7 separate regions of the Homo sapiens genome follow, and all the other regions are linked to region 7. The links are contacts of gene promoters, found by promoter capture Hi-C in blood cells and fetal thymus (Javierre and others, 2016). All regions are on one chromosome and are shown on one strand. The core of a region is centred on a gene start or on the middle of the fragment in contact, and the rest is flanking DNA. Distances in the headings are between cores, read along the strand shown.

Region 1 (2,700 bases), core at 180-2,679, 430 kb before region 7:
CTAAGTTCTTAGTCTTCTTGGAGAAAAGAATTCAGCCAAGAGACCAATTGGTAAAGTAAACAAGAAGGTTTATTAAGGAAATAAAAGAACACATCATGAGAGGGGCAGGCTGACCCAGAGCAGCCCTGAGAGCCTTGTGTTGTGGTTTTTATTATGTTGGACTGTTTATTTAAGTGCCTACTTCTGTCTTAAGTCTCTGTCTTTGTCTTTGTCTAGTTTCCTGTTCCTGTCTTAAGTCCCTGCCCAGGTTTGTGGGATTCCTCCTTCTGGTCAGTTGACGTGCATGCATGAGGCATGGTGATCAATACAAATCCTACCTAATGGTAGCCTTGCTCGAGACCACCACACCAGGAAGGTCTACAGCAGTCAAATCTGTACCTATTGTGCCTGTGTATCTCTTAGGAATTCCCCCTTTTTCCTTTTTCCCTTCCTATCAGCATACAGCTAGCTACATTCTGACAGTTTACCAGCAGAATGAGCAGCGACTGGGCATCTGATGGGGTGTTTGGGACATTCCTTTCTGCATAGGTATCTTCCCCTGTGCTCATATTTAGCATGCAGGTTTCAGGTGGTCTCTGGAGCTTCCTCCCCCAGGGGCTCCCTTTCCTGCTCATGTCTAACTGTGTGCCAACTCTACAAGTGTGATAAACAATAAGAATGCCTGACTCCCTCACAAAGCCTTGGGTGTCAGCACCAGTGAGCTTGGTGGGCAGGGAGGGTGAGGCATGGTGATGGCTGAAGAGGCTCAAAGGCTTTCTGGGGTTTTGTGCCACATCGGCTCCCTAAAACCCCACAGTTCCTATTTTTCTACCCTAACCACTTAACATTTCATTTCCCCCAAGCTTCCATCTCTGTCCTGAAGGTTTATAGCCTGTGAGATGCAGACCTCGATCTGTGTGGGTGTGGATAAGGGCACTGCAGAGACTTTGAAAGGAAACCGAGAAGAACTGGGCAGCAGCTGCCAAACATTGTCTTCACACATATGTCAAGTATGTGAAGTACATATGACATAGACCCATTAAAAATCAGGTTCCTTTAGGTGTGGTAATCAGGTCATGGTAACTTCTGGTGATTTGACATCTCAGGCATACCTTTTCCATGCCAGTGGAATGGTACAATTCAATTTTTTTTTTTTAGACAGACTCTCACTCTGTCACCCAGGCTGGAGTGCAGTGGCACGATCTTGTCTCACTGCAACCTCCGCCTCCTGGGTTCAGGCGATTCTCCTGACTCAGCCTCCTGAGTAGCTGAGATTACAGATGACCACCACAGCCCAGTTAATTTTTGTATTTTTAGTAGAGATGGGGTTTCACCATGTTAGCCAGGCTGGTCTCGAACTCCTGACCTCAAGTGATCTGCCTGCCTTTGGCCTCCCCAAGTGCTGGGATTATGGGCTTGAGCCACCATGCCCGGCCAGAATTCTATTTTAGAGAGACTTTATCATATCAAAATAGTTGGGAGCCACCGAGATAGTTTATAATTGGGGATTCTACTCCAAACTGTGATTTCTTCTCTTTCCTCACTAGAAGTCTGCATCCTTCCCAGTACAGTATCAACAAACACTGTAGATCCACGTTGGCTCCGGTCCCTGTTTTCTCAGCTGTTGGAGAGAAAAGAGCAAGGGTTTTTTTAAAACGTATCCCTTCATTTTCTAGCTGTGTAACTTTGCATTTACTTAAATTCTGATAATTTCTTTTTCCTCAGAATATGAAAAATCCCTACCTACCTCTTAGAGATGCAGTGAGAATCAGGTAAGAATACATGGGCGGTGTTAGGTCATCAGTGCAGGAATCGATATTGACAAATGCTTACATTCAAGTCCAACAAACCTGCCTCATAAACTCATTTGAATTCAAGGAGAGAAATTGCAGCTTACTCATCAAATATTCCATGAGAAAGATAAACACCTGTTTTCTCTCAATCAACTTTTAGAAGTTGGAAGACTTCAAACCTGAAGATTATCTCTCTCATGGCCCACATGGCCATCTCCAATGCAGGTATGTCAACCTGAAAGGAAAAAGCTTAGGCAAAATTAACATAAGCAGGCAGTTTATTTGGGCCAGGCTTGAGGACTGCAACCCCAGATCATAGATTAAAGTTGTCCTGAATATGCGCTCAAATTTGTAGCAGTTACAAGGGGATTTTTAAAGGCAAAACTTGGGGGCAGGGAGTGGACTGATACAAAGCTGTTTGTCAGGAATTCTCATTTGTTTACAGAAATAACATTGCCTATTGATTGGCTATACATTGTTAAGCCATAGAATGTGGATTATCGTGTCTAATGTGGCAATAGCAAGCAGTTGATCAATACATAGCTCAAAGCGGGGAGTACAGCGTGATTGCTTTCTCAATTCAATGTCTCTCTGGGCCTGATTATTAAAAGGAATTGCCTTCCTTACATAAAAGTTATTTTCTTTATTCTTTTCCTTTTTTTTTTTTTTTTTTTTTGAGACAGGGTTTCACTCTGACATCCAGGCTGGAGTGCAGTGGTGTGATTACAGCTCACTGTAGCCTCGACCTCCTAGGCTCAAGCAATCCTCCCACCTCAGCCTCCCATGTACCCTGGCTAATTTTTTTTATTTTTTGTAGACACGGGGTCTCACTTTGTTTTCTGAGCCAGTCTTGAACTCCTGGGTTCAAGCAATCCTCCTGCCTCAGCCTCCCAAAGTGCTGGGATTATGGGCGTGAGCCCCCACACCC
Region 2 (2,700 bases), core at 115-2,614, 300 kb before region 7:
CTCACTCTTTGGCCCTGCTGGAGTGCAGTGGCACCATCTCGGCTCACTGCAACCTCCGCCTCCCAGGTTCAAGTGATTCTCCAGCCTCAGCCTCACGAGTAGCTGGGATTACAGGTGTGCCCCACCATGTCTGGCTAATTTTTGTATTTTTAGTAGAGACAGCGTTTTTGGCCAAGCTAGTCTCGAACTCCTGACCTCAGGTGATCTGCCTGCCTTGGCCTCCCAAAGTGGTGGGATTACAGGAGTGGGCCACTGGGCCTGGCCTCACTTAAACATTTTAAAAGTTTTCTATTGATTGCTCTCAGGTAGAATCAACGCTCTTGTGCCATGTCTTGCCTATAGCTTTGTCTGTTCCCACCCAGCACACTGACTCCCGCAGAGAACCACAATCCAGTTAGCAAGACCTGCTGCTTAGGGGTTATCATTCATTTGTTCATTTCTTCTGCACGTATTGGGCCTGCCATGTGGAGGATGGCACAGATGTTAAGCTCACGAGTTCAGAGTAAGGGCTAACTTGCATTCAAGTCTCTGCTCACTTACTAGCTGTGTGATTTTGGGCAAGTGGCTTGCCCTCTCTGAGTTTTAGTTGTATTACCTTTTAGTTTTTTTCTTTTTTTTTTTAAGAGAGAGGGTTCCACTCCTGTCACCTAGGCTGGAGTGCATTGGTGCTATCATGGCTCACTGCAGCCTCGGACTCCTGGGCTCAAGCCATCCTCCCACTTCAGCCTCCAGAATTGCTGGGACTACAGGTGCGTCACCACCACACCCGACTTATAGTTGCATTACCTATGGCTCGAGAGCTATAGGGGCATCTGTCACATGAGACCTGTGAGAATTAAATGAAATAATGCCTGTAGAGCTTCGGTACCTTTCAGGACAATGTTCCCTATAGGGCTTAATTGTGTTCGCCATGATGGCATAAGATGGCATCGTCTATAGAACTGTCCTTATGGAATTATTAACTGAAGAGTTAATCAAAAATATTAAGTAGGGAATTATAAACAATGATAAAGATATTAAAATTATTTCATGTAAAAAGCAAAAATGCACACTGATTTGCCTATCTTTTGATGTAGGGTCAAGGCCCTGGCTTATGCCTTGTCTTTCTGCGGGAACTTTATGTCTTCTTCCTTATACAAACTACAAGTGTATAAACAGGCTATGCTCTGCAGTTTTGATTCTAAAAATAGAGCAAAGGTTTAAAGGAATATACGATGCAAGAGTCCTATGAATATTCAATTTTTCTCCCAAACATGTAAACTTGTCCTGCCCACACCTATGTCAATGCCACTGATTTCTAGAGACTCATCTTTCTTGGGTCTTTTCAACAAAAAAGCTGTCATTTTCACATTCATGTTTCATTAATTTGTAAGTGCTGAGTTAAATTGTGTAAGTGTGATAGCACATACCTCTGGCAGAGTGGGTTTGGGAGGAATCCCTGTGACTCTGGGTGAAGAGCACCTCAACTGGTGGGGCCAGAAGGGAGTGGTCTAGAGAATCCCCCAACACATGAAACCCCAGGGCAAGAACACAAATGGAGGCCCACATGCCATGCTGCTGAACATTTGAAAATTACAAATCAAGCTAACTTGGCCAGGTGCGGTGGCTCATGCCTGTGGTCCCAGTGCTTTGGGAGGCTGAGGCGGGTGGATCACTTGAGGTCAGGAGTTCGAGACCTGCCTGGTCAACATGGTGAAACCCCGTCTCTACTAAAAATACAAAAATTAACCTGGCGTATGCCTGTAATCCCAGCTACTCGGGAGGCTGAGGCAGGAGACTCACTTGAACTCAAGAGGCAGAGGTTGCAGTGAGCCAAGATCCTGCCACTGCACTTCAGCCTGGGTGACAGAGTGAGGCTCTGTCTCAAAAATAAATAAATAAATAAATAAATAAATAAATAAATAAAATAAAAATAAATCAAGTTAACTCTAACAAAATATAGTCTGCCTTCCTCTCCCGACAAACCCAGAAGGCCAGATTTTAACATTGAATTCTTGGACTCCATAGGGCTCCGTGCTAGAACGAGGTAGTCAGAGATGGCCAGCTCTGAGGCTCCAGCCCAGGTGTACCTCATTCCTCTTCTCACCCCCATTTCTCACACACCAAGGGGACTGGCAAGTACTGTGGAAGCTCCATCTACGTCCCCTACAGACAGTTGCCCCTTGGCCATCCTCAAGAAGAAAACCCGTCCTGTGATGGAAGGGGCTTGGGGTCCTGTGGGCAGGGAATGCTGGGGTCCCAGGTGCACTAAGAATGGTCTAGGCCCGGATTGGCAAGTATTTCTACAAATGACCACATGATAAATATTTCAGGCTTTGCAGGCCATACGGTCTCTGTCGTAACTACACAAGTCTGCCGTTTTGTGGTGAAAACAGCATAGACGCTATGCAAACAAATGAACATGGCAATGTTCCAGGAAAACTTTACTTATGGACACCAAAATTTAAATTCCATGTAATTTTCACATATCATTCTTCCTTTGATGTTTTTACAACCATTTAAAAATATAAAAACCATTCTTAGCTTATGAGCTGAATGGAAACTAGTGGCCCAGGAGTCATTTGCAAACCCTGGTCTAGAAGGTGAGGCAAAAACTCTAGGTGGACACATCCCAGTGGGCCCTGGACCTCTTACCCTGTGGAGTGGGGAGTGGGGCCCTCAGGGGCACAGGGCTGAGGGAGGATCCCGTCTTGCCCAGGC
Region 3 (2,700 bases), core at 132-2,631, 340 kb before region 7:
TACAATGCTATCTTGATTACTATAGTTACATAGAGGTCTTAATAATGGGCAGAATGAGTCCTCTCACTTTATTTTTATTTGTCAGAATCGTTTTAACTATTCTAGAGCCTGTACTTTACCATACATACTTTAGACTAAGTTTGTCAATATCTACAGAAAACTTTCCTGGGATTTAGGTAGCAATTGCTTTAAACCTATAGATCAATTTAGGGAAAATTGACATATTTATTATGTTGAGTTTTCCAATCTGAGAACACAGTAAGTATGCCTCTCCATTTATTTAGGCTTTTTAAAATTTCTTTCATCAACATTTTATAATTTCCAATATAAACATCTTGTACATGTTTTGTTAAAAGGACACCTAACTATTCATCTTCTTAGGAGTGACTGTAAATAGTATTGTATTTTTTATTGCAGTTCTTACATTTTTATAGTTAGTATATAGAAATGGAATTCATTTTTGTTAATCTTGTATCCTGTGACATTGCTGAACTCACTTATTAGTTCTAAACATTTTTTCATAGATTCCTGGGGATATTCTGTAGAGACAATCATATCTCCTATGAATATAGTTTTAGTGCTCTGTTTTCTATGTGTATGTATTTTATGTCTTGTCTTTACTGAGACTTCATTGGTTATAACTTCCAGTACTATGTTGAATAAGGGTGGTAAGAATGGGCATTGTCTTGTTCTTGATCTTAGGAGGAAAGCATTCAGTCTTTCCCCATTAAGTAGGATTTTGTGGATTTTTTTTTGTAGGTACCCTTTATCAGTTGAGAAAATTCCCTTCCATTCCTAACTTGCTGAAATTTTTATTATGAATAAAATTAGAGTTTTGTCAATTGCTATTTTTGTGTCAATTGATATGATATGATATTTCTACTTTAGCTTATTGATGTGATGCCTAACTTTCAATTATTTTTTGAATGTCAAAATAGCCTTGCATATCTGATAGAAATCACACTTGTTTATGGTATATAATTCTTTTTATACATTATTGGATGAAGTTTGTGGATATCTTGTTGAGAATTCAACATCTAACTTCCTGTGACTTGTCGGTTTGTAATCTTCTTTGTACTGTCTTTTCCTGGTGTTTGTATTAGGGTAATACTGACCACGTAAAATGAGTTTTTAAATGTTCTCTCCTGTTTTACTTACTGGAGGAGATCGTGTAAAATTGGTGTCAATTCTTCTTTAAATGTTTGGTAGAATTCTCCAGTGAAACCATGTGAGCCTAGAGATTTCTATCTTAAGAGCTTTTCATTTACTAATTTAATTTTCTTCATGGTTATAGGGTTATTCTGACTGTCAATTTCATCTTGGTTGACTTGGTAGTTTGTTGTTTCAAGGAATTAGTCCACTTCTTTTAAGTTGTCAAATATGTGAGTTTAATGTTAGTCATAGTGGTCCCTTGTTTGAAATGGTTGCAGAATCTATAGTGATATATCTCATTTCATTCCCGACATTGGTGATTTGTGTCTCCTCTCATTATATTTTTGTCAGTCTTGTTAGAGGTTTATCAATTTTATTGATTGATTCTAAAGAACCAGTTTCTGTTGTCAATTTTCTCTATTATTTTCTTTTCCTATTCTCAATTTCATTGATTTCCACTCATATTTATTTTCTTTCTTTTGCTTGTATTGGTTTTATTTTGCTCTTTTCTTTCTAGTTTCTTGAAGTAGGAACTTAGATTATTAATTTCAGATATTCTTCTTGTGTAATATAACATTATTGCCAAAAATTTCCTCACAGTACTGCTTTAACTGCATTCCACAAATTTTCATAGGTTGTATTTTCATTTCATTCAGTTCTGCGTATCTTTAAAATTTTCCTTGTAGGCTTTCTTTCAACCCACAGATTATTTATAAGTATGTTGTTCAATTACTCCTTGCTTGTTATTTTCCTGTTGTTTTTCTATTATTGATTTCTTGTTTGATTCCATTATGACTGGGTATCACACTACATGATTTCAATTCTTTAAAATTATTTGAGGGGCTGGGCACAGTGGCTCACGTCTGGAACTCCAATGATAGGAATCTTGGATCTTCTCTTATTGTCTCAAAGGTCTCTGAGTCTCTGGTCTTTTTTTCAGTCAATTTTCTCATTGTTTTTCAGATTGAGTGAATTCCATTTTTTTTGTCTTCAAGTTCACGTATATCCTCTCTCATCTTCAGTCTACTATTGAGTTCATACAGTAAGTTTAAAAATCTCTGTTATTGTATTTTTCCAGGTCTTCATTTTCATCCGGTACTTTTTTATAACTTCTATCTTTTCTCAGATTTTTAATTTTCATTTTAAGAGAATTTATAACTTGAAGCATTTTATGATGCTACTTTAAAATCCTTGTCAGATAATCTCAACATCTGATTCATCTTGGTGTTGGTGTCAGCTGCCTGTCTTTGCTCCTTTGAGTCGAGATTTTTTATTTTGGTTCTTGGCATAAATGGTGAGTTTTTAATTATATCTTGGATATCTTGTCTGTTATGTCAGGAGAGTCTGGGTCCTATATAAATATTTCATATTAGCAGTCAGGTACCCTATTTAGGTTTAGCACATGCATCTCGCCTTACCTTATGGACTCTGGTTCTAATGTTAGTTTGATTTCCAGAGCCTTTGGTCTGCTAGGTTTCTCTGGTGCTTCTGGATATCCCATTGGTCCCTGATGATGCTGCCTGAGTGGGTAGAAGGGCTTTCCCTTGT
Region 4 (2,700 bases), core at 179-2,678, 290 kb before region 7:
GTTTCCTCCAATAGCAAGGCGCTTGCTCTTGTGGCTCCCGGCCTCCAGTGTTACTCTCTCTGTTTCCCTGTGGATGGCCACTGTGGTGCTTCACACATCCCTACCCAGACCCAGTAGGGTCTCTGAGCTCTGAGCTCAAGGATGTGTTTTGAGGGTGCAAATGTCTTAGCTTCTGTTCTGGGCTTAGAGCTAGTTACAGGCTACAAGGTGTTGTCATTACAGACCCCAAGGAGGCTCAGTCTGTGGGATCCTTCCACCTGGATAGGCCTTTTCGGGCTGCACTTGCTCAGATGAAAGCCACTGACCCCCCTCCTTATGCCTGTAAGCTTGATAGTGTTAATGGCAAAGAGGGGAGAGGGTAAAGGTTGGCATAACGACTACAGCAAAATGATAATGACAACAAACTAACAATAGCATTTATCAAGCGCTCACTATGTGCCACGCACTCTTCTAAGCACTTTAGTTGTATTGACTCATTTCATCTTCATACCAACTCATTGTGATAGATACTGTTCTATTTTTTACAGATGATGAAACTGAGGCACAGAGAGAGGGAGTCCTCTCTTAATTCTTGAATCCCCTTCAAAACCTGGGTCTTTGGGGCCTCCTTCTCTTTCATCAGACTGCAGTCTAGAGCCATCAGGCAATCTCTGTGCCAGGTCTAGAGGGGAGGTGGACCAGGTTCAATGGAGTGTCTTGTAAATAACTGGGTGTCTGTCCCTGCCAGAACTGAGGGTTGCTTTCATTTTTAGCTGCAACTACCATTAAAGAGCTATTTGCCTCTGGGATCCCTTTTGGTTCCATACCCTCCAATAATTAAAGTAGGTCATCCCTGTGACCAGGCATGATGGGGGCCGGGGGCAAGGATGTAGGGATGTTACATTGGTTTCTCTCTCTCTCTTTCTCTGTCTCTCTCTCTGTCTCTCTCTCTCTCTCTCTCTCTCTCTCTCTCACACACACACACACACAAATATCCCTGGAATGCCCCCACAGAACTTCCTGGGTGGTTGCCTACACGCCCCTCTCTTAGACAATAAGCTCTCTAAAGAGTCTTTTTAAAGACAAGAGAGCAGTCAACCTGCCTCCAAGAAACACACAAACAAGGGAAGTCTTGAGCTACATTTTCCACTCAGGGTAGTGCCAACTGGGTCTGTTACGTCACTTGGAGCAGCTATTTATCTCAAATAAATGAAAAATCCTTTGCTTTGTGGACAATGACAGAAAACTTGCAAATTGGGAGCTTTGCCAGGAGTGGAATATGCACCTCATTGATGGGGGCTGTCAGGAGACTGAGGACAGAAACCACTGCTGCACCAATCACTGCTGCTGGGGACCACCATCCTCCATGGCCTCTGCTAAATGTAGCCCCCGGTGCCTGGTTCTGCCTGGAGGGGCTGCTGCTGCTACTCAAGGGCCAGGCCCCCTCCCAATACCAAGTGTAACTCTTCCTTCAACTCTCCCCTCTGACTGCCTCAGGGAAGACTGCCCTGACCCCCAGACTTGGAGGAAGGTCCAGTCCCATAAAATCCACAGCATCTACCACTTTCTCTGTTGTAATGCTCACCATGCTCATAGCTACCTACTTACTGCCAGTGTTCCCCACCCAGCTTCCTAGCCACTTTCCATGAGAGCAGTGACCATGTCTGTCCTGTCCACTGAGTCTTTGTTACCTAACAAGGGCTCTAATACACAGCAGGTCCCCAGTACGTGATTGTGGATTGACTTCAACTAAACAGAAGAGCTAACCAGATGCTGAGCTCTGTATTAAGTACTTTGTATATATCCACTTCACAGGTGGGTAGTGTGAGGGTCAGAAAAGTCTAGTAATTTGTTCAAAGTCACACAGCTGGGAAGCAGAAGTGCAAGGAGGATTTGGACTCAGTTATCTGACACCAGAGCCCAAGTGCTGGACCATGACACTAGAAGCCTCCTAGACCCCTTGGGCATCTACCCTCCTGGGGCGTGGGCTCACTAGAATCCTCAACTCTCCCCCATGCCAACCTTTCCCCTAATAAACTCACAATCCAGCAACCTCTCCAGACCCACAGCCCCTTGGGGAGACAATGTCCTTTTCATAAAGAACACCACACTGGTTGCCATGGGACCTGAGCTTGGCCTAGCTCCACCACCAGCTGCCATTGTGACCTCAGGCCAACGACTTGACTTTTCAGGGTCCTCATCTTCCATGCAAGACCAAGACCTTCTCGGGGCATTCTTCAGAATGCCAGCCAGAATAGCTCAGGCTCAGCAAGGCTAGATTTAATTTCTGCTACTCCATCTATAACTTTGTGACTCTGGGGGCAGCACAAGTGACATTTTGAGCCTCTGTTCCATTAATAAAATAGGGAGAGTCACCATATCTGCCCTCCTCGCCTGTCTGTGGCAAGGACATGGAAGCCCAGGGAGTTGGAAGTGGCTTGCTCAAGGCCCTACAGCAAACCCGTGATCAAATCGGAGTTGAACCCTGTCAAACCAGCTTGAGTTGCTGCTCTTAACCACCTCGCCACGCTAAGCATTAAAAAGCAAGCAAGAAGCTTGGCTGTAAAACCTGAGCCATACATGTGTTTCTCTTGCCTTATCTGCAAAGCAAGTCTAAAGAGGCTGGACAAGAAAGGTGCAGCCCCAGGATGTGACTCACTGTGACCTTCACCTTGACTTGTCCCAGCCTTGACACTAGTGAAGGCCCTTTAAATAAAAACA
Region 5 (2,700 bases), core at 180-2,679, 270 kb before region 7:
TTACATGACCTCTGGCCCACAGGCTTCTCTCGTGCTTCCCTCACCTGAGAAACAAGACTACCAAGTTTGCAAGGAGGTGCCTCAGTTCCCTGCAAATATGTCCACTTCAGAGAAGCCTTTGCCATCAGGTGCAGATCTTACATGCCATTGTCTATAGGACAGAAAATATCCAGTCTGCTGAAACATTTCCTCCCTTGGGCAGAGGTACTCATGATTTCTAGCACCTGGTGCTTAAAAAACTTCAATAGAGCAGGGGTTCCCAATTCCCAGACCGTGGACCAGTATAGGTCTATGGCCTGCTAGGAACTGAGCCGCACAGCAGGAGGTGATGAGTGGGTGAGCTCACATTACCTCCTGAGCTCTGTCTCGTGTCAGATCAGCAGTGGCATTAGATTCTTATAGGGGCATAAACTGTATTGTGAACTGTGCATTCAAGGAATCTAGGTTGTGCGCTCCTTATTAGAATCTAATCAGTGCCTGATGATGTGAGATGGAACAGTTTCATTTTTAAAATGAAAAAACTCTTGTTTTAGAAATTTTGCTTAGGTTAAACTTTATATATATATATATATCCTATTACTACTAATACTATGGAGAACACTGATAGTCCTTGATGGAAACTGTTTAGAGAGTTATGCAAAATAAATGCATTTGACACCTTTGCCTCCTCATCCATGGAACAATTGTCTTCCATGAAACCAGTCCCTGGTGCCAGAAGGGTTTGGGACATTGAAATGGAGGACTGGTTTTGTTTTGTTTTTAGTAACATTGATCCACTTTTCTGAGGTCCTGCAAGGAAAAAAAAGTGGATTTTAAAGCCTCAAAGAGGAAAATCAAGGATGATTATTTTGAATAACAGCAAGAAATAAAAATTCAAGACAAACCATATAGCAGTGTGACATAAAATAGCATAAAAGTGGCAAGGTGTAGCAAAAGTATTTTTTAAAACATTTCCTTAATGGAAAATTCGAAACACTTATGTAAGTAGACAGAATAGTATAATGAATCTCTTCTGTCCATGGTCTAGCTTCAATACTCATCAATTTACAGCCAACCTTCGTTCATCTTGACTTCCACTCATGCATTCCCTCCTCCTAATAATTTCGATGTACATCCCAGACATCATATTATTACAACTGTAAAAATTTCAGTGAATCTCAAAGTCATTGTGCTGAGTGAAAGAAGCTGGACAAAAACAATATATATTTTATTATTTGTTTAGAATTCTAGAACATGCAAACCAATCTATATTGACAAGAAGCTGATCAGTGACTGGGGACAGGACTGGGAGAGGCAAGAGGAAAGGATTACAAAAGCACCTGAGAAAATTTTGGAGAGGGTGATGAATACGTCCGTTATCTTGACTGTGGTGATGGTTTCACAGGTGGCTACACAAGTCGCAACTCACAAAACCGTGCATTTTAAGTACGAGCAGTTAGTTGTACACCAATTATACCACCATGGATTTATTTTAAGATAACACACTATGGTTGAAGATTGGGTTAATTAATTTATTTATTTTTTATTTTTTGAGACAGACTTTTGCCCTTTTCGCCCAGGTTGCTTCATTTCTTGGCTCACTGCAACCTCCACCTGCCAGGTTCAAACGATTCTCCTATGGCGTGAACTCAGGAGGCAGAGGTTGCAGTGAGCCAAGATCGCGCCTCTGCACTGCACCGCACTGCACTCCAGCCTGGGCGACAGTGCAAGATTCCGTCTCAAAAAAAAAAACAAAAAACAAAAAACAATCCTCCTGCCTCAGCCTCCCAAGTAGCTGGAACTACAGGTGCAGCAACCACACCTGGCTAATGTGTTTGTTTGTTTGTTTTGGTAGAGACGGGGGTTTCACCATGTTAGCCAGGCTGGTCTCAAATGCCTGACCTCGGGTGATCCGCCCACCTCGGCCTCCCGAAGTGCTGGGATCACAGGAGTGAGCCACCATGCCCGGCCTGAAGATTGGGTTTAAAAACAACCAGGGCTTTAAAAACTTGAGTTAGATGTTTAAAATAATTTGTTTTTTCTTTCTGTCCTCATTAACATAAATATTTAAGGATATGCCTTTTCCTTTGAGCACTGCTGCAGCTATACCCACAGGTTCTGTTATACAGTTTTGCAATTGCTGTTTTCTAAAATGTCTTTGTTAACGTAAAGTTAAGAGTTTTTTCTTTTAAAAACATTTCAGATGGAAGAATCTTTTTCTAGTTCTTTGTTATCAATGTCTAGTTTAATCCTATTATGATTAGGGGATTTGCTTGTACTATTTCTACTTTTGATAATTTGTTGAAATTTTATTATGTACATTTATGTAGTCAGAGTTCATGAATGTTTCACTGACCTTCGTAAAGAAGGTAAACTTTCCATTTTCAGGATATAGATTTTTGACATATATCAACCAGATCAATGTTCTTACTTTCTACTTATTTCTGTTATTTGATCTGACATGAATTAATAGCTTTGAAAAGTTTTCTACTACAAGTGTGTTTCTATTTCTCCTCATATCCTCTGTAATTTCTGCCTTATGAATATTGATGCTATGTGCTTTTGCACACAGACGCTTATTAGCTATTTCATCTTTTCTGTGCGTTGTGTCTTTTAGCATTAGAATGCTCCCTTGTTTGTCTCATTTAATGTTCTTTGGCCCTGAATTTCTTCCTCTTTGAAGGCAAACTGGCGACACTTGCTAGCTTTTGGTTTGCGCTT
Region 6 (2,700 bases), core at 132-2,631, 320 kb before region 7:
TGTTCAGGGACCTCTCCTGGGTTAACTGGCATCCGGGGTCAGAGTGAGGTGGATGAGGAGAAATGCATCAGCCCTCGGCCCCTGGATACTCCGCCAGTGGCTTCACACCTGGGAGTCACAGACCCTGCTGAGTGAAGGTCAGCCACACTGAACAGTCCTTCTGAGAATGGGCTTTTTAACCAGCAGAGAGAGTGGTCACCAATAGAACACCAGGCCTTGACGATTGGAGGACTTAGCACAAAAGAAGGTGGGAGGGAGGACAGAGGACAGGGAAGCCTGCTTGGTGTCCTGTGGTGGTCCAGCAGAAGGACAGAAGTGTCCAGAGCGCTCCCAAACGGAGGCAAGCTGCATCTGCTCCAGGAAGGCTTTCTTGATAGAAAAAGAGGGGGCAGCATCCTCTCATTTATCCCCCGCCTCTCCCAGAGGGCATGCCTGGGCCAAGGCTCACCTGGCTTCATGTGTGATCTGTGTCTGTATTCACCCTACATCAGCTCAGTTCAACACATCTTTCTGAGCACCTGCTATGTGCTAAGCACAGTAGAAAGCTCACATTACAAAGAAAGATGCAGTCCCTTTCTTCACGGAAACCACTTTCTCTTGTGGGAGGGAGATCCACAAAGAGAACATTTCAGTCTGTGAGCTGGGTGCTATGAGCATGCTACGGGCAGGGCCCCACGCAAGCCCAGACTGCATGTTCAGGGACCTGCACCAGGGCCCTCCTACCTGCCTGTGGTGAGATCTCCCCTCGCACAGACACCAGGAAGCAGTCATACCTGTCATTTCAAATCATGTATCTTAGTTTGGGTTGCTATAACAGAATACCACAGTGGCTTATAAACAACAGAAATTTATTTCTCACAGTTCTGGAGGCTGGATGTCCAAGATCAGGGTGGCAGATGGTTGGGTTCTGGTGGGGGCCCTCTTCTGGGTTGCAGACTGACAGCTTCTCTCTCTCTCTGTCTGGTTTTTTTTTTTTTTTTTTTTTTTTTGAGAGGGAGTTTTGCTCTTGTTGCCCTGGCTGCAGTGCAATGGTGCGATCTCGGCTCACCGCAACCTTCGCCTCCCAGGTTTGAGCAATTCTCCTGCCTCAGCCTCCTGAGTAGCTGGGATTACAGAGATGCGCCACGACGCCCGGCTAATTTTGTATTTTTAGTAGAGACAGAGTTTCACCATGTTGGTCAGGCTGATCTCGAACTCCCGACCTCAGGTGATCCACCCACCTTGGCCTCCCAAAGTGCTGGGATTACAGGGGTGAGCCACCGTGCCTGGCCCCCCCTTTTTTTTTTATATTTGAGAGGGAGTCTTGCTCTGTCGCCCAGGCTGGAGTGCAGTGGCACCAGCTCAGCTCACTGCAACCTCTGCCTCCTGGGTTCAAGCGATTCTCCTGCCTCAGCCTCCAGAGTAGCTGGGATTACAGGCACATGCCACCATGCCTGGCTAATTTTTGTATTTTTAGTAGAGACGAGGTTTCACCATGTTGGCCAGGCTGGTCTTGAACTCCCGACCTCAGGTGATCTGCCCATCTCGGCCTCTCAAAGTGCTGGGATTACAGGTGTGAGCCACCGCATCCAGCCACAGCTTCTTTGTGCCTTTACATGATGCAAAGAGAGCAAGAGAGTGCTCTGCAGTCTCTTTGCTAAGGGCACTAATCCTATTCATGAGGGCTCCATCCTCATGACCTAATTGCCTCCCAAAGCCCCACCTCCGAACACCATCACCTTGGGGGTGAGGATTTCCACACAGGAATTTGCGGGGGAGGGCACACACATTCAGACCGTAACACCATGAGATTGAGGAAACAAATACTTTTTAGTGCTCACATCTTCAGGAAATAACTTGGCACAGCCTACTCAGGGACACCTTTTGCCCACAGAAATCCAGCAAAGGAAATTGTTCAAAAGCTCATTACACACAAGCACCTACTGCATCCCTGGGCACCCTTTCCTCATCCATCTCTTCTTCTCTCTACCTGCAAACTGTCTGTCTGGGCTAGTTTGGGCTAATTACTGAGCAATAAAATGTCTGATTTTTATATAGTGGCTCTGTTCAGAGCTGCCAAAAACATTAAAAGTAGGGCCAGGGTAGGAGAGAAAAACATATTTTTTCATAATTTTACCTAGAAGATTCATTTGAGAGGGAGAAATAGGCTCACTGCCCTAACGAGAGAGTTGGATAAAAACAAATTCCTCATTAATTTTAAATATGTCAACTGGAGAAGGAGATTAAAGTGAGGACGACTGATGAATGGTGCTTCTGGGAACAGACGAAAGCACACCGAGGAAAGGGGATGGGGTCCCCAGTAGGCCCTCAACAGAAACAGAGCTACCCTCACTAGCTCTGCAGGGACAGCAGCTCTGGAGGGTGCCCCTTGGAATAGGGGCACCATGCACTGGACACCCCCTCCCACGGCAGGGGCTGGCACTGCCCACTCAGCTGGCAAGACTATAGAGTGATGAGGACTTGGCTCTGATGAAGCTGGAGCTGGAGATGAAATACTGCGGGCTCTTGGCATCCTCCTAAGTGGCCTGGCAAGGTGTAGATAACAATAAGGGAGCATCCCCACTCAGTGTTTACTTTCAGCTGTCTCTAGTAGGCAAGTTGCAAATGTTCGCCTTTATTAACGCACGTGTTTTCTCATTACTCTGTGAAGCAGATGGGTCTATGGTGTCTTCAGGAAAGAAATGCTGGCTGGTTTCTTAG
Region 7 (2,700 bases), core at 75-2,574:
CATACCCTCATACCCCCAGAGCCCCTGGGGCTACACAATTAGGATTCTTCTGTTTTGAATCCCCTTTCATGCTGGTGAAAATATTTGAGCAGCTCAGTGTCAACAAAAATGTACCTCTGCACATATCAGGTAGCGTCCCCAACATGTGCCAGATCCTTCCAGAACATCGGGATGTATGGCCCTGGCTATATGTAAAGTCACTGGCATGCACCACTCTGGTCATCTATTGCCAGGTAGCAAACTACACCTAACTTAGTGGCCTAAAGCAACCACATGTATGAAGTTCATGGAGTCTGGGTCAGGAATTCAGAAAGGGCATCATGGGGATGGCACTTCTCTGCTCCTTGGTGTCGGGGATCTCGTGGGCCTAGGCTATGGAATGCACCCACCAGATGGTGTCTGCACATGAATGTCCAGCAGCCGGGCTGGGTGGCTGAGGGCTGGGCTCAGCTGAGGCCATCCGTCATTGACTTGCATGGGCCTCTCAAGCCTTAGGCTTCTCCTGGCATGGTGGTGGACTCCAGGTTCCAAGAGGAGACACCTGGAGACGCAGGCAGGAACCATGCAGACCTCTGTGACCTAGCCACGGAAGTCATATAGTATCACCACTGCCATACCTCTTGGTCAAAGCAGCCCTGAGCTCACCCATGAAGAGGGATATAGACCTCCACTTCTAGACGGGAGAAGTACCCAGGAATTTTAGGGGCCACCTCCAGATAGTTGCCAAACCCCTCCCACCCACACTTCACTGTCACTTTGGAGATGGAGTGAACGTGCCACCTTCCTGCTTGCTGTCTCCATAAAGGCTGTGCACACCCTGCTTGAGAAGCTTGGGCGATGCGTTTTATTTTCAAGTAGAATGTGGCAAAGACCACTTACTTTCTCTCCAGCCACCTCCAGATGCGCTTGCAAGCTGTGCCTGCCATTCTTCCAGACTCTCCTGTCCAGTGTGACTCACTTTGCCAACAACGGAGGCCCAGAGTGCTTCTGTCTCCTCCCAGCTGCGCAGGGAAACAGAACCCAGACCAGCTTCTGGATCAGCCCTGTGCCTGGGATTTCTCACTGAAACAAGGTCTCCTGGTGTCATTTCCTCCCAATGCTGTCCTGGGTGACACTTTCCATTTGAGCTGCTTTTTTATATAGGCCCTAGCAACTAGGGGCCGTGTCGGAATAACTTCAGACGAGTCCTTTCACTGTTCTTTAAAAAAAAAAAAAACCACTAGAAAACCACTAGCCCGTGAAGCAGAGTGTTTCATTTCTTGTTACTATACATTGTCTCCCCCACCCACCCGAGTGATCAGGGAGCGCAGATGTGACTCAGCTCACTTCCCAGGAGTCTCTTAAAAGGTTCTGGGCAGAGGCTGGTGAAACTGCCCCAGTCCTCACTGCCTGGATGAGTTCATGGACAAACATGCATGGCGTGTCTGTCCATCTGCATTAGCGCTGAGCAGAAAAGATACGGACGCACAGCAGCTCATGGTAGCAGTCCACGCACGTCGTCCTGCTTGATGACACCGCTAAGAATTAATCCATTTGGGAGGAGAGCAACCAAATCCACCCAGGGCGGAGTCCAGGACAGCAGGCAAGGGAAGGGAAGTAGAGCTGAGCTACCAGGCTTGGGCAGGTAGCAGCAGCCTGGCAGAGCACACTGTGGTGGGGTGGAAGCCTGCACCAGTTGTGCAGGGGCTCTGCCCTTGTGCCCTGCGTAGGAAGCAGTGCAGCCAGGGAACAGACACCTATACTTTCTAGAACTCTTGACTTGGAGCTGTTCACCCCAGTGCGGAACGCAGAGAACCCACCGGACCAAGAGACCACATCCCTGTCCCCTGGAATGGCAGAAGCAGTGGTAACAAAGCCCCTTTCTCTCCCACAGGCCCCTCTGCCTTCCCCATCGTCCTGCGACCTCACACAGCAGCTCCTGCCTCAGACCGTTCTGCAGAGCACGCCCGCTCCCATGGCACAGGTGAGTCTGGGACCCAGGAAAGGGCAGCCCCTCTCAAGCCAGAAGTCCGCAGTGTGCTGCGCTGATGGTCTTGTACACTTAGGTCCCAACCAAGGCCCTGACGTGGGGGAATGTCCCTCCCAATGTGTGTGTGGCCTGTGTCGAGCCATGAGGTTCCCCCCACACCCACCCTCTCGTCTCCAAGTTCTTTTTTCCAGTGTCTGGGGTTTTCTTTTTTTAAATTTCAGTAGTTTTGAGGGAACAGGTGGTGTTTGATTGTATGGATAAGTTCTTTAGGGGTGATTTCTGAGATTTGTGTACCTGTCACCCGAGCAGTGTACACTGTACCCAATATGTAGTCCTTTATGCCTCACATCCCCCCACCCTTGCCCCACCAGTCCCAAAGTCCATCATTTCATTCTTATGCCTTTGTGACCTCATAGTTTAGCTCCCACTTAGAAGTGAAAACATACGATATTTGGTTTTCCATTTCTGAGTTGCTTCATTTAGAATAATGACCTCCAGCTCCATCCAAGTTGCTGCAGAAGTCCAGAGTCTGTTTTTTTAATTCTTTTAACAGTCTCTGTTCACCTCTTTGCCACTTTTCCACATTCCTCTTGTTCTTTACGACTCCAAATTGGCCATGGTATTTTAGAAAAGGTCTGAATTGGGCTGCATGTCATAGAAAGACTGAAAGGATCTAAAAGCCGTGAGTCCAGCACTATAAATATCACATTTGTTTAAAAAAAAAGAAAGAA

The links. Contacts are between HindIII fragments. The CHiCAGO score rates a contact against its expected background, and 5 or more counts as called.
Region 1: a contact is called between a fragment that was not itself captured here and the fragment with the promoter of NPAS2-AS1 in region 7, in 5 of 17 cell types (total CD4 T cells, naive CD4 T cells, non-activated CD4 T cells and 2 more). The highest score is 10.6, in total CD4 T cells.
Region 2: a fragment that was not itself captured here is called in contact with the fragment with the promoter of NPAS2-AS1 in region 7 in 7 of 17 cell types (M1 macrophages, non-activated CD4 T cells, naive CD4 T cells and 4 more); the score reaches 7.1 in M1 macrophages.
Region 3: a fragment that was not itself captured here is called in contact with the fragment with the promoter of NPAS2-AS1 in region 7 in 3 of 17 cell types (naive CD4 T cells, total CD4 T cells and naive CD8 T cells); the score reaches 7.5 in naive CD4 T cells.
Region 4: a contact is called between a fragment that was not itself captured here and the fragment with the promoter of NPAS2-AS1 in region 7, in 7 of 17 cell types (M1 macrophages, endothelial precursors, naive CD4 T cells and 4 more). The highest score is 10.2, in M1 macrophages.
Region 5: a contact is called between a fragment that was not itself captured here and the fragment with the promoter of NPAS2-AS1 in region 7, in 3 of 17 cell types (M1 macrophages, M2 macrophages and M0 macrophages). The highest score is 7.9, in M1 macrophages.
Region 6: a contact is called between a fragment that was not itself captured here and the fragment with the promoter of NPAS2-AS1 in region 7, in 8 of 17 cell types (naive CD4 T cells, non-activated CD4 T cells, total CD4 T cells and 5 more). The highest score is 11.0, in naive CD4 T cells.

The regions. Positions count from the first base shown.
Region 1 is chr2:100,543,531-100,546,230 of GRCh38, forward strand. No RefSeq gene overlaps it. Among named protein-coding and RNA genes, the nearest start is that of PDCL3, 18 kb to the right of the region's middle. The HindIII fragment of the contact is 1,179 bases long and covers 841-2,019 here.
Region 2 is chr2:100,671,140-100,673,839 of GRCh38, forward strand. The region is part of intron 2 of LINC01868 (long intergenic non-protein coding RNA 1868); the gene reads right to left. Among named protein-coding and RNA genes, the nearest start is that of LINC01868, 7.5 kb to the right of the region's middle. The HindIII fragment of the contact is 7,321 bases long and covers 1-2,700 here.
Region 3 is chr2:100,635,038-100,637,737 of GRCh38, forward strand. No RefSeq gene overlaps it. Among named protein-coding and RNA genes, the nearest start is that of LINC01849, 33 kb to the left of the region's middle. The HindIII fragment of the contact is 6,239 bases long and covers 1-2,700 here.
Region 4 is chr2:100,689,950-100,692,649 of GRCh38, forward strand. No RefSeq gene overlaps it. Among named protein-coding and RNA genes, the nearest start is that of LINC01868, 11 kb to the left of the region's middle. The HindIII fragment of the contact is 2,208 bases long and covers 325-2,532 here.
Region 5 is chr2:100,709,357-100,712,056 of GRCh38, forward strand. No RefSeq gene overlaps it. Among named protein-coding and RNA genes, the nearest start is that of LINC01868, 31 kb to the left of the region's middle. The HindIII fragment of the contact is 6,246 bases long and covers 1-2,700 here.
Region 6 is chr2:100,653,152-100,655,851 of GRCh38, forward strand. It overlaps LOC107985814 (a long non-coding RNA gene), which reads right to left and starts at 174. Exons shown (of 4, transcript XR_001739199.1): 1 at 1-174. The HindIII fragment of the contact is 8,143 bases long and covers 1-2,700 here.
Region 7 is chr2:100,975,837-100,978,536 of GRCh38, forward strand. NPAS2-AS1 (NPAS2 antisense RNA 1) reads right to left here and starts at 1,325. Exons shown (of 3, transcript NR_110213.1): 1 at 880-1,325. NPAS2 (neuronal PAS domain protein 2) reads left to right here. Exons shown (of 21, transcript NM_002518.4): 15 at 1,874-1,963. The HindIII fragment of the contact is 3,647 bases long and covers 828-2,700 here.